2 separate regions of the Homo sapiens genome follow, and region 1 is linked to region 2. Evidence: promoter capture Hi-C in 16 types of primary human blood cells and fetal thymus (Javierre and others, 2016). All regions are on one chromosome and are shown on one strand. Each heading gives the region's core, a stretch centred on a gene start or on the middle of the fragment in contact. The rest is flanking DNA. Distances are from core to core; before and after follow the strand shown. Region 1 overlaps SMCHD1 (structural maintenance of chromosomes flexible hinge domain containing 1). Region 2 holds the start of EMILIN2 (elastin microfibril interfacer 2).

What was found. The method cuts DNA at HindIII sites, captures the fragments that hold promoters and counts their contacts. A CHiCAGO score of 5 or more calls a contact.
Region 1: a contact is called between a fragment that was not itself captured here and the fragment with the promoter of EMILIN2 in region 2, in 2 of 17 cell types (monocytes and M1 macrophages). The highest score is 8.2, in monocytes.

What each region holds. Positions count from the first base shown.
Region 1 is chr18:2,747,715-2,753,955 of GRCh38, reverse strand. It overlaps SMCHD1 (structural maintenance of chromosomes flexible hinge domain containing 1), which reads right to left. Exons shown (of 48, transcript NM_015295.3): 31 at 3,834-3,913; 32 at 3,449-3,606; 33 at 2,563-2,678; 34 at 1,404-1,468. Among named protein-coding and RNA genes, the nearest start is that of SMCHD1, 95 kb to the right of the region's middle. The HindIII fragment of the contact is 2,871 bases long and covers 1,544-4,414 here.
Region 2 is chr18:2,845,421-2,852,012 of GRCh38, reverse strand. It overlaps EMILIN2 (elastin microfibril interfacer 2), which reads right to left and starts at 5,007. Exons shown (of 8, transcript NM_032048.3): 1 at 4,691-5,007; 2 at 4,082-4,204. The coding sequence starts at 4,824. RefSeq lists silencers at 4,030-4,119, 4,740-4,789. The HindIII fragment of the contact is 11,570 bases long and covers 1-6,051 here.

The DNA.
Region 1 (6,241 bases), core at 1,730-4,229, 96 kb after region 2:
AAACAGGGAAATGCAAATTAAGAGTAAGTGTGATGCCACTCTATTACATGTCCACCAGAAGATTACACCTGAAAAGACCCACAAAACCGTGTTGGGAAGGGCCGGGCACGGTGGCTCATGCTTGTAATCCCACCATTTTGGGAGGCTGAGGTGGGCAGATGGCTTTGAGCTCAGGAGTTCGAGACTAGCCAGAGCAACTTGGTGAAACCCAGTCTCCACACACACACAAAATAAATAAATAAATAAATTTGCTGGGCATGGCAGCACATTCCTGTAGTCCTAGCTACTTGGGAGGCTGAGGCAGGGGGCTCGCTTGAGCCAGGGAAGCAGAGGTTGCAGTGAGCCACTGCACTCTAGGCATTGCACTCTAGCAAGGCTATGTATTAAAAAGAAATAAACCCTCAAGCTACTCAAGTTAAACACACACATCTATGTTTAACATCTATATTTAACATCTAACATACACATCTATATTTAAATATACACATCTATGAACTTATGACCCAGCAATTTTACTTTTATATGAGCACCAGTGTTATAAAGATTATTTGTAATAGCCCAAAATTGAAAATGCAAATAGCCATTAACAGAATGGAAAATAGTAGTGTGTTCACACAATGGACTTCTATACAGCAATGGAAATGAATGAATTTATAGCTATATGCCACAGAATCTCATGATGCTGAGTGAAAGAAGTCTTATGCAAAGGAAAATAATTGTATATCAAGTTCAAAAATGGGCACAACTAAATCAGAGACTATAGAGATGTATGCTAAGATAAACGGAACTCTAAATAAGACCAAATCAGGAGAGGGTTTGTGGTGTGTGCATGTGTGTGTCTACATGAGTGTGTGCATGGCATGCACAACAGGAAGGAAGACGGTAATAACTGGAAGAGGTAAGGGGTGGAGCTTCCATGATTGGTCCTTTACCAATTAGTCTGAAAAAGCACTGAACAAATATAATGAGCATTTTGACCCTATTGATGATAAAGGATTTGTAAAGAAACTTAACACATAATGTTTTTAGATTTGAAAATGGAGGTCCAGAATGAAGCAGCAACATGCTCAAAGTCACAGAAATGTTAAAAGCCAGTCTAATCTTTATAGAAACCTCCTATATAATAAGAAGTTATAAAGTGCCCTGACAACATAAAAGAATTCTTCTGATGGCTTCGATAGTTTCAAAAGCAAATACAATTACAATTTACAAAGCTTAAAACCAATTTAATGCTTAAAAACGAAAACACACCTTTTCCCAAAAAACTGAGAAAAATTTAGAGACACTAACATTTCTATTTGATCATAAATTACTTTTCCTCAGGTGAGCCCACATATATCTCCAGGGTTGAATTACTTTGTAACAAGATATGTATTCAAAATATGAAATGTTTTGAGAAATACCTGAAATAGAAGCAGCCATCTTCTTTGTCATTATCTTTTATTTTATTACAACTAAATGTTTCTGCCTAGAAAGGGGAGTAGGAGAGAAGGGGAGAGGGGAAAATGACAAAATTTAACATAGTATACTTAGGAGGAAAGCTTATTATATACCTAAACTGAATGTGTATCTGGATTCCATTTATAAACATACAGGTATATATACACACGTTTATATCTTCATAATACATGTAAGGTACAATGTGAGATTAGTGACAGTGGAAAGACACCCCATTATTAAAAGACACACAGTAGAACTTTATGGTGATATTATTTAAAGATAATACCAACTTGATTGGACTGATGGTCTAAATTAAGCAAGCAAAGATTCAGGATTAATTAAGCAAGATAGTTTCCAAAACCAATGATTAAAATGAACCATAAATGTTGAAGTAGATTATTATATCAGGACACTGATAAACTTTAGTTCCCAATTTTAGATTTATTTCAGATCTGCATTATCCAATATGGTAGCCAATGGCTATGTGTGACTACTGGGCACTTGAAATGTGGCTGGTCTGAACTGATATACAGTGTAAAATAAACACCAAATTTCATAGACTTGGTAAGATAAAAGAACGTAAAATCCTAGCAATAATTTTTAAACTATTGAATATATGTTGAAATGGTAACTTTTGATATATTAGGTTAAAAACATTAGAATTTTACTTATTTCTTTTTAGCTTTTAAATGTAGCTACTAGAAAGCAGAAACACCAGGTATGATCTTTCCACTGGACAGCACTGTTCTAGACCCTCTAACTCTCCACTCTCTTTCAAGCAGTCTATCAATCCTATCTCTTTACTATCTCATTTTCTATATTATCCCCTCATATTTAATAGCTTCTGCCTTGTGCTACTGTCCTTCAGATGAAATAATTTTAATGTGTAGGCATCTTAAAATGTTAAGAAACATCACAATGTAGACTACTCTTTTTCAATAGCATCAATCTTTAATTTTGAAACATACATTGATGTAATTTCTTTAACCCCAAAGGAATGAAGTAAATTCACTTCCATTTCTCAAATTTATATAACATTATATATTTACATTAAAGGAGACTTAGTTTTAAGTTAAATGTAAGAACTATTTTTAACTTCAAAAAATGCTTCCCATGACTCACATTTGCTGGGGGTCGGTTCCCACTGGTAGACAGCTTCCACATTTTCATGGAAATACGTGCTGGATTAATGTTTTTAATGATACTGTCATCTTCAGAAATAACACTAATCATAAAATCTGTCATGGTAAACGTTAAAAAATTATCTCTTTCTAGTTCAATTAATGGATATGGTTAAATAATTGTATGCCTTAAAGCAAACATCTTATTTAAATGTTTAAAGCACACGTTATTTAAATGTTAATACAATTCTGATGAAGAAATGTATAAATTCTAGCATACAAGACCAAAAAGACTAGAATGTATACTCAGCAACTTAAGAGTTAGGCCAATTGGTCATAGCACCATATGCTTTATGTATTCCAAGAACAGAATATTTACTTTCTTGTATGATTTTCGATAGCATATAATAGCCAAAAGATCAATATATATAATATTCCCATTATATTTACCACCTGTAACATTCATTTGGCACCTGTTACTAATTTTTTAATCACAGGAAATAGATCTCCCTGAAATAGATTTAAAACTTTATATACGGTATAGTCTACTTTATAGGGTAAAAAAAGCTATGTATACATGTAACTTGATTATTAAAAATTATTGTCAACAATTTTTAAATCTAAACTTTGAGGTGCTTCATTCACTACTTAAAACTATGTATAGGGATTCATCCTTTTAAGAAAACAGAAGTCTTCCAGAAAATTATTTGTGTAAAACAAAAACTAATTTCCTATTGACTTAACATCTGCAACATGATATTGAAATCATTTGCTTCCCTGTCTCCTACATTAGACTGAGCACACTTAACCTAGGATAAGTAATTTATTCCACTAATGTACAAAGCAAATTATCATTATAGATTTATTTATGTATGTGAAATACTCACCAGTGAAAAGACCCCCTGCTAAGAAGGATGCATCTTTGTCATATTTAACATTGAGACGAACGGGTTTTTCTGGGTCTGGAAGAATCATTAACTTAATTATAGGTCCTTCTATGATACTTTTGTTATAGATGGCTTTAACCTGAAGAGTATGCTCTCCCCTAACAAAACAAAAGAGGAGAGGGGTTCAAATTACATTAGTTAATAACCTAAAAATTCTGAGACAATTTATGCAAAGTTCAACTCTTAGAAAAACCTCTCAACTTCTATTCAGTCCCAACTCTTGCCTAACATTAAACAGAAGGATAGTCATTAGCTGTAACTTCGGCAAGCAGTAAGAAAAACGAATCTCTATAACACCAACAACTATCAAACTTTTGGTTCTTACCTAGGGGCAAAAACACTGAATACTCCCAAATTAGCCCTGCCTTTCTCATCTGTTTTATGCTGTTGGTTTGAAGGCATGAGCTAAAAACAAAACAAAACAAAATGGTTAATTAGAAAATTCTAGAGATCAATCAAGTTCTTTTCTTCCATTACAATGTTCTTTCCCTCTATTCCTATTTTAAAAGCAGTATTTGCATACTTCTAAAATCTAAATTTTAAAAATCTGAACTAGTTGGAATAATGTAGTATGTAATGATATAATCCAAAGTAGAATAACAATCACTCATCTTGATCAATTTCACTAGAATTTAATGTATTTCAGTTACTAAGTTGCAGATTTCTAGTTCACTGTTTCAATATCACTGATAGATCAAATGAAGTTTGTTTACACAAACACAGAAGGTATATTCTAAAGCTGGGGCAGGTATAGGGGACTGCACTGGAGAAATATATACTGTACACACATACTCAAGTCAAAGCATCATAGCACTATCTTCATTCTTCATTTTTCTCTTGAAAGTCTACTCAGATACACTTCTCAAATTTTTGCTGCAATACTACATTCACAGTGATAACCAAGCTTTCACTTTCAAGAGATTAAGAATCAGTGGCCACATTTCCTAATAACTGGTCTAGAAGGGTCTCTCAGCCTTTTACAGATGGTTCTCCAGAAACTAGAATCATATCTTTATTCTGGGGTTGAAAGTAATCATTGTCTAACTCTACTGGAAGCAAACATTCAGAATAACAGTGAATTTGTAGACCACAGTAGAAGAAAAATCAGACTTTCTCCCAAATCCTAAAACCCATCTCAACTTAATAGAACCTAAAGAGTAGGTAATAATGGTACATGCAGACAGGAAAAGCAATAGCTGAACAGGAAAAAATGAGAAAGGGTACTTGAAATGATAGGATGAAATCCTATGTTTATACCTGTCCCAATTACCCTCTGGTCCATTGTCTCTCAACCCATCTTTCTCAAAGTATGTCTCCCATCTGGGTATCAAATCCTTACTGCTAAGCCAGAGAAGTAAGTCTTTTCAGGTCTTAGAGCAGCAGTATCATAGCCTCATTTAACAGACTCATTTAAAAACTCCAACTGTAATTACTATGAAAACAGGTCCATGTGTAACAAGCCATTCTTGGCACTTTAATCTTCCATACGACTTTTAAGATCACCTTTTCAGGTTCTGGGAAATCCCTGTTGGGATTCTGATTGAACTATAAATAATTGCAAGAGAAACATCATCTTTACATGATATCAACTGGTTTCTCCATTACATTTATATTTATTTTTTATATGTGGAGGGATACTCAAGATTGTCTGAATATGACCCCAACTCCCTCTGGCTTGCTTAGCAACAACCTGGCTGGGACCAATGAATTCCCTTCAACCAACAGAAGAGACAGTATAAAAATACAACTTTATGGCCAGGCGCAGTGGCTCACACCTGTAATCCCAGCACTTTGGGAGACCAAGGCGGGTGGATCACCCGCGGTCAAGAGTTTGAGACCAGCCTGGCCAACGTGGTGAAACCCCGTCTGTACTAAAAATACAAAAATTAGCTGGGCATGATGGCACATGCCTGTAATCCCAACTACTCAGGAGGCGGAGGCAGGAGAATTGCTTTGAACCTGGGAGGCAGAGGTTGCAGTGAGCCAAGATCACGCCACTGCACTCCAGCCTGGGGCGTTGCAGCGAGACTCTGTCTCCAAAAAAAAAAAAAAAAAAATTTATATACACACACACACACACACACACACACACACACACACACACAACTTTGCAAAGACTAGCAGCTTTTCCTCTTTCCCCTAGAAGGAGTGCCTCCAACTTTGCACCAGCCACTAGATCCCATGCAGCTTCTCAATACTCATAGGAATAAATGATACCTAATCTTGAACTTTCTGGTAGTCAAGACTGTTCCCAAACTTTACAAGACCATGTTCATACTTGCCCCATAAAAAGAACAATAAAGGGCAGGAGCCTCACCCTAAAATATATCAGTATGTTCCAGTAGCTCTGCCCAGGATTTGGTAGCTCTCCATAAGATAAGTAGAGGATAGGTACCTGCAAGACTTTTTTTGTTTAGCCTCACCATGTATGTTTCCCCAATAATGCCTGTTCCTTAATCCATTCTGTAGGTCACTGTGATATCTGTCTTCATTCACTTTGTCAGTGTTAATTATCTATTTATTCATCCTAATCTGAAATGCAAGTCTTACTAGCACTATATAAGAAACACTAAAACAGCCATAACTGTACAATGTTGGCCCCTTGTTGTACTACTGTAAGATATAAACTTTATTTCCTCAAAATAATTTTAAAAATTTTTGAGGTTTATTTACACTAAGCAATAATAAAGATTATGTAAAATATATTTTTTAGAAAAGAAGCAATATGACAGC
Region 2 (6,592 bases), core at 3,758-6,257:
TAGAGACAGAGGGCAGTCCGCAAAGCCCTGGATTAGCAGGCGGCTCAGTGGCTACCCTCACGTGATCACAAGCAACTTAGGGAATGGCTCATCTCAGTTTCCTCCTTGGTAAAATGGAGACAATACTATTCAACCCGAAGGGCTGTTGCAGAAACTAAATAAACTAATGTATGGAATGGAAAGCCCTAACATGGGGCCTGGCACATAGAAGGTACTTTATAGTATCAGAAAAGTGATTACTTAAAATGCCCACTTATATAAAAACCCCTTCTGTTCCTGGTTGCACATAACAATATTCAAATTCACAATCTGGAATCTAAGGCTTTTCATACATGTAAACAGGGCACCGTCTAATCCTTCTGACAAGGCACCTGCGGCCTGTAGTCAGTCTCTACAGCTAAGGAGGCTGTCAGGGCCCAGTGACATGGCTGGGCGCAGAAGCCCTCCTCCTGTTATTTAAATGAGTACCTCCATCACACCCCATTTCCCAGCGGTTTCACCCTCAGTCTCGGAGCACTCTCTCTATGGCTACTTTACTTCTGTCCCCAGATAGGCAGAATGCTCTCTCTCTGTGTTTCGAGACAGGATCTCACTCTATCACCCAGGCTGGAGCGCAGTGACGTGATCATAGCTCACTGCAGCCTCGAACTCCTGGGCTCAAGCAATCCTTCTATCTCAGCCTCCCGAGTAGCTGGGACTACAGGTATGCACCACCATGCCCTGCTATTTTTTTTTTTTATAGTGATAGGGTCACACTATGTTGCCCAGGCTAATTTCAAACTCTTGGGCTCAAGTGATCCTCCCGCCTCAGCCTCCCAAAATGTTGGGATTACAGGCAAGAGCCATCCTGCCTGGCCCCGATCTCTCTCTAAGTAATTCTTTACCTGCTTGGCTACTATTCAGCTCCTTTTTTTTTTTTTTTCCATCAGAGCCTTTTTCCCATGATATCATTTTCTGTATAACTAAGTTTCTTCATGACTCACTCCCTCAATCTCACACAAATTACAATGCCTGCACCCCACTGACCTGAATGGCCTCTTTCTGCAGAAACAATTGCTTCCTGCTCACTAACCCATGGCCTTTCTGGAGCCTGAAGCCTCCAGGACTTCTCCTGAGTCTCTAAGATGGGGTTTCCTCCACCAATATCTTTGCTTCACTCTCTCTCCTTGCCCAGCTCTTCCTCTTCCTTCCCCTCCACTGTCCCTAAGAACTCAGCTCTGCTCAACCATGTCAAGGCCTCAGTGATGCCAACCTGTCCGTCACTCTCAACTGCAGAAATGCGTTTCTATCTCCAGCATCTCGGCCAACCTCCAGCCCTGTACTTCCAACACTGCTCACAAATTATCCCTCAGTCACTCTAGAGTGAGTTTCTGAAGAACGTTTTTTTCCAGCCTGGGTAACATAGTGAGACCCCATCCCTAAAAAAATAAAAATAAAAAACTAGCAGGATGCAGTGACTTCTGCTTGTAATCCCAGCTACTCAGGAGGCTGAGGTAGGAGGATCGCTTGAGCCGAACAGTTAGAGGTTGCAGTGAACTATGATGGTGCCACTGCACCCCAGCCTGGGTGACACAGTGAGACCCTGTCTCTAAAAAACAATAATAATAAAAAAGAACCTCAGGTTTCCTTCCACAGGTCCCAGGTGACTCAGGCTTCTGGATTCCTCAGAAAACACTGAACAATTCCATGTGAAACAGCCATTCCTCCTTGTTAAGTATAAAAAGAAGGCTCCTTCCTTTGTCTTCATTCATCCACCAATTCTCAAAACTTAGGGGCCAGACATGGTGGCTCATGCTTGTAATCCTAGCACTTTGGCAGGCTGAGGCGGGCGGATTGCCTGAGCTCAAGTTCGAGACCAGCCTTACCAACATGTTGAAACCCTATCTCTACTAAAAATACAAAAAAAAAAAAAAAAAAAATTAGCTGGGCATGGTGGCACACACCTGTAGTCCCAGCTACTCGGGAGGCTGAGGAATGAGAGTTGCTTGAACCCAGGAGGCAGTTGTTGCAGTGAGCCAAGATCACGCCACTGCACCCCACCTTGGGTGACATGGTAAGACTCTGTCTCAAAACAAAACAAACAAAAAACAAAAAACAAAAAAGAAATCTTAGGAAGCATTCCTCAGTTGAAAAATAAGATAAACCATTCTGTTCCATCCCTAAAGAAACTGAAAAAAGTCAAGACTGAATTTACTGCTGAAGCTAATGTCAAGATTTTCAGGTTCATCAACTCAGTCTTTGTTTCTTAAACTTCACACTTACAGTGCAGTACTTAAAATGTAAAAATGCACTTGTATTGTTTATATGGTTATTATTGAAATAAAACATCCAGGTCACTTATTTTGGCTTTGTTTAATAAAACAACAGAAACATCTGTCATTTTTTATAATAATTCTGTTGTCCTACTCACTGGGTGGCAAAAATGCACTCCCACTGCCTTGCATTGACCTGCCAATCTGGAGGCGATTCACTCCCCACTGACAGCCAAGTTTCACTGAGTTTTGGTCAAATAGAACAATTAAATCATCCTTTGGTTTTCCAAGCAGCTAAAATAATTTGAGAAAATAAAAACAAGCCATCTTTTAAACAAAAATGCATTACCTCCCAAAATGAAAAATTCATTTATCTCCGAATTGTCACCAGTAAGTTTTAAGGTTATAGCAAGCCACACCATGCAGTTCTTGTATAAGATGAATAAAATATTCCTGACTAATAACTCAATTCTAATTTTAAACAAATGCATTCAAACTGAGTTGAATACTTAGTTTGTATCACTCCCACAGTGTAAAAACCTTGCTTGGTTCTGATGTCGTTGACTGCTGGCCATAGACGATGAGGTCTCAATCTTACTAAGAGATTAAGGTTGGATGACAGTACCTTATCTCTCTGACAATGTATCCAACTCAAAGAGATAGCCTAGCTGGGCATTCAATTTCAGCGTTTTCCACTGTATATTAGGAAATGGGGACCTCGTCTAAGTTTCTGTTTGTTTTACTTTGTTTTTGCCGAGCAGGAATTAGCTGAACCCTGTTGGCAGCTCCTCCAGAAGCCCACGTGGGGTGGACCCAGCGACCACTTCCCATAAGACTACAGGCTCATCTACTGTTCTCTGGAATAAGGTTTCCTGGAGTACAAGTTCCAGTCTGTCCCTTGGTTTTGCCAAAGACAGATCCGCCTACTGACTATTCTCTGCTGTAATGACAACTGTGCTCTAAGACAAACAACTTATTCTTAGTGGAAAACAATTAATTTCAGCCATCACATGTGTTCCTCAACAGCCATTTATTCACACTGGCCCATCTTCCGGTATCAGACTGATACAAAACCCCCAAAGACTTGCCTGATGACAATTGAATGAGTGTCATGTATTTAACGGCATTTGTACTTTATTGCATTGCTTCCTGTTTTTTTTTTTTTTTAAGATGGGGAAATCTTTATAAGCAAAAAGATGATTAATTCTTCCCCCTGTCTTTAACGGCCATTCTCTCCCACAATCTCTAGAGAATCTCCAAATCTAAGTTGCGGGGAGGGATGCTGGGGAGCCACACTTTTAAGCAAAGTGTTCCTGAGGTTTTAGCTTAGACATCTACAAAACTGGAAGATTCCGTTTTATGGGGACATACGGACAGAACTCACTCGTTTTAGAACACTACTTAGCCAAACCTCTCAGCGAATCCTATACGGAATAGTCTTTAGCAGTATACATTTTGGAATCTTCTGTGTGCCCCAGAACACACAATATGGATCCAATTAGATTCAGCTGCCTTATGTTACAAACAAACATTGAAAGGGAGAAAACAGAAGTGGGAGTGGGAGCTTTGTTCATCCTCTCCTACGCCCCCGCGACCCCACACTCCCGAGGCGCGCGCATCCTCCCCACTCACTCGGGCAGCACCCACTCCCTAAATAGCCCAGCGTGGCCGGTGCCCCGCGAGCGCTCGGAGCGCTTTTCCGCTGCGGGCTTTTCACCGGATCTGGAAGGGATTTACCGGAGGGACTGGAGCCCAGCGCAGCAACCCCACCCCACCCCCACCGCCCCGGCCCGGGCGCGCCCCGCCCGCTCCCCGGCTCCAGGACTTACACCAGCGCCGACGGACAGGGCATCTGGTTCCAGGCACAGTTGTACTGAGCCTGAATAAAACTCTCACTTCCCTCCAGCACGGAGCAGCTCACATTCTTGTTCACGATGTAGGCGCACCAGTTCCTGGGGTGCAGGAGAGAGAGGGAGAGGGGCACGGGGTAAACCCGGAGAACAATGAGGCCAGGGGAGAGGGGACTGCGGCACCAGACCGAGCGAGGGTCGGGGGGGCCCGTCGCCCTCTGCGGAGGCGGGAGCTTCACCGAGCAGACGCCGGAGGGTGCCCGGGTGCGCCTCTGGAGAGCGCGCGCCTGGACCCGACCAAGACGGGAAAGAAAAGCACCCATGGTCCCAGGGGCTCATGGAATTCCTGGGAGTCGTTTTCGGATCGCCCGGGTCTGCGGGACGCTCTCTGCGCCCACGCCCCCGGAGTCAGCTCTGCCTGAGGCGCCGGCTGCGGAGCGCGCGGTCCCCCGCAGAGGGAGCCGCCCGGGGAAGTCCAAGGGAGGCCCCCGGCTGCCGCTCGTCGTCTTTGGCAGGGCAGCTCTGGGGCTCAACTGGGGGCCGGGGAGGGGTAGGCGGTTTGGGGCCAGCCAAGGGGCGCGCACTTACTTGTTCCTGGCGCTGGGCCGCGCGGGATACCCGGGCTGCGGGCCGGCGTGGCACAGCCCCGCGCCAACCAGGGCCAGCAGCGCCAGCGCCCAGCGCCAGGGCACGCGGGGCCAGGGCCGTCTGGGCTGCCACATCCCGCGCGCAGCGGGCGCGCCCCGCCTGCCCGGGTCCGGAGCGCGGCGGATCGGGGCACCGGCCACAAGGCTGCCGGCGGCCAGGGCGCCGCCCGCGAAGGCAAGAGGCTCGGGCGCTTCGCGGCGCTCCAACCAGTGCTCCGCGGCCGCCCCCTCCGGCTTCTCGTTCCTACTTCTCCTTCTGCAGCCCCGTGCGCCCTGCGCTTCTCCCCGGTCCCTCAATGACGCACAGGTCCCCCCGGGTGCCGCCCTCTTTATTTCACTTCCCTCTCCGAAACGTGACTCTCCCCCCACCAAGTCTCCCCGTCTCCAGTCCCTTCGCTTCTCGGCAGGGGGCTCGGGGTGGAGGGGCGAAAGGGTTTGGGATAAGGGTCTACGTTACAGCATTTCCAATGACTCATTCCTTTGGTCTCTTCCCAGATGCCGAGCGACTCCGCCTCCCACCTTCCGACAGGCTCGCTCCCGGCCCCCCGGGACGCGGCCGCCGTCGGCGAGTCTGGCCGTCCTCGCGTCGTGCCTGGGTGCCAGCCTCCCGGGGCGAATGAGGGACATGTTTATCAGTCCCGCGGGGAGAGGAGTGGGGGCTCGACTCGAATTTCCTCCTCGGGCAAGACAGGGCCGTTCCCCCACCAGCTCCATGGACCTAGAGAGTCCAGGAGGAAACGAACGCTGGTTCTTTCTTTGCCCAACTCTGCCTTAGGCACCATCTGACAGTTTCCGAGGCCACGCGGGGGGCGGCAGGACAGGACAAGCCACAGCCCCGCCAATTCCCAGAGGCTGCTGCAGCTCAGCGTCCGGCTCTATCACTTACTGCAATTCTCCTCCAATTCTTGAAAGGTGATCTCACAGCCTCTGCTTCTGAGGTCCCACTGTGAACTTTCTTTTTCTATTGAAACTAAGGCATTTACTCACGTTTGCTTCTTAACAGTTCAGGCACTGCTAGACATCCGTCTTAAACTTTCTTGTATGTTTTCTGCCTGTTGTTGAGTTACACTAATCTCTACCGATGTCTTTTTGGGATGAAGTACCAGAATGTTAAGTAAAATCACCACCCAAGTGTTGTATTCTAAGGGGTGTTGGAGAGAGCTGTGTGTTTGAGATGACCTGCTGCATCTAATCAATGTACAGGGTCGTGAGTGGCGTGGTTACCAGACTCCACAGATAAAACTGTGGCCTCTGTGAGCTAACCAGACGCTGTTGGCCATGACTCGTTAAGTGAATAAAGCTTTGCTATGGGCCAGGCGGGGTGGCTCACGCCTGTAATCCCAGCACTTTGGGAGGTCGAGGCGGGTGGATCACCTGACGTCGGGAGTTCAAGACCAGCCTGACCAACATGGAGAAACCCCGTCTCTACTAAAAGTACAAAAAAAAAAAAAAAATTTGCCGGGCACGGTGGCACATGCCTGTAATCCCAGCTACTTGGGAGGCTGAGGCAGGAGAATCGCTTGAACCAGAGAGATGGAGGTTGCAGTGAGCCGGGATCTCACCACTGCACTCCAGCCTGGGCAAAAAGAGTGAAAATCTGTCGCAAAAAATAAAAAATAAAAACGTTTGCTATGTTCCTACTTTACTAAATGAAGCCATTGGTCTATTTTGTTTCTAATATTCTTTGATGGTGTTGTTGGACCTTTTGATTTGCAGATGAAAGAAAGAGAAGTCCCTAAGTAGAAACTACAAGGGCCAAGCAGAACATTATACCATGTAAGGACATCATCTGTCCCTGGACTCTTAAGCGGAAGATCATGCAAATAGTGGACTGAAGTCATCC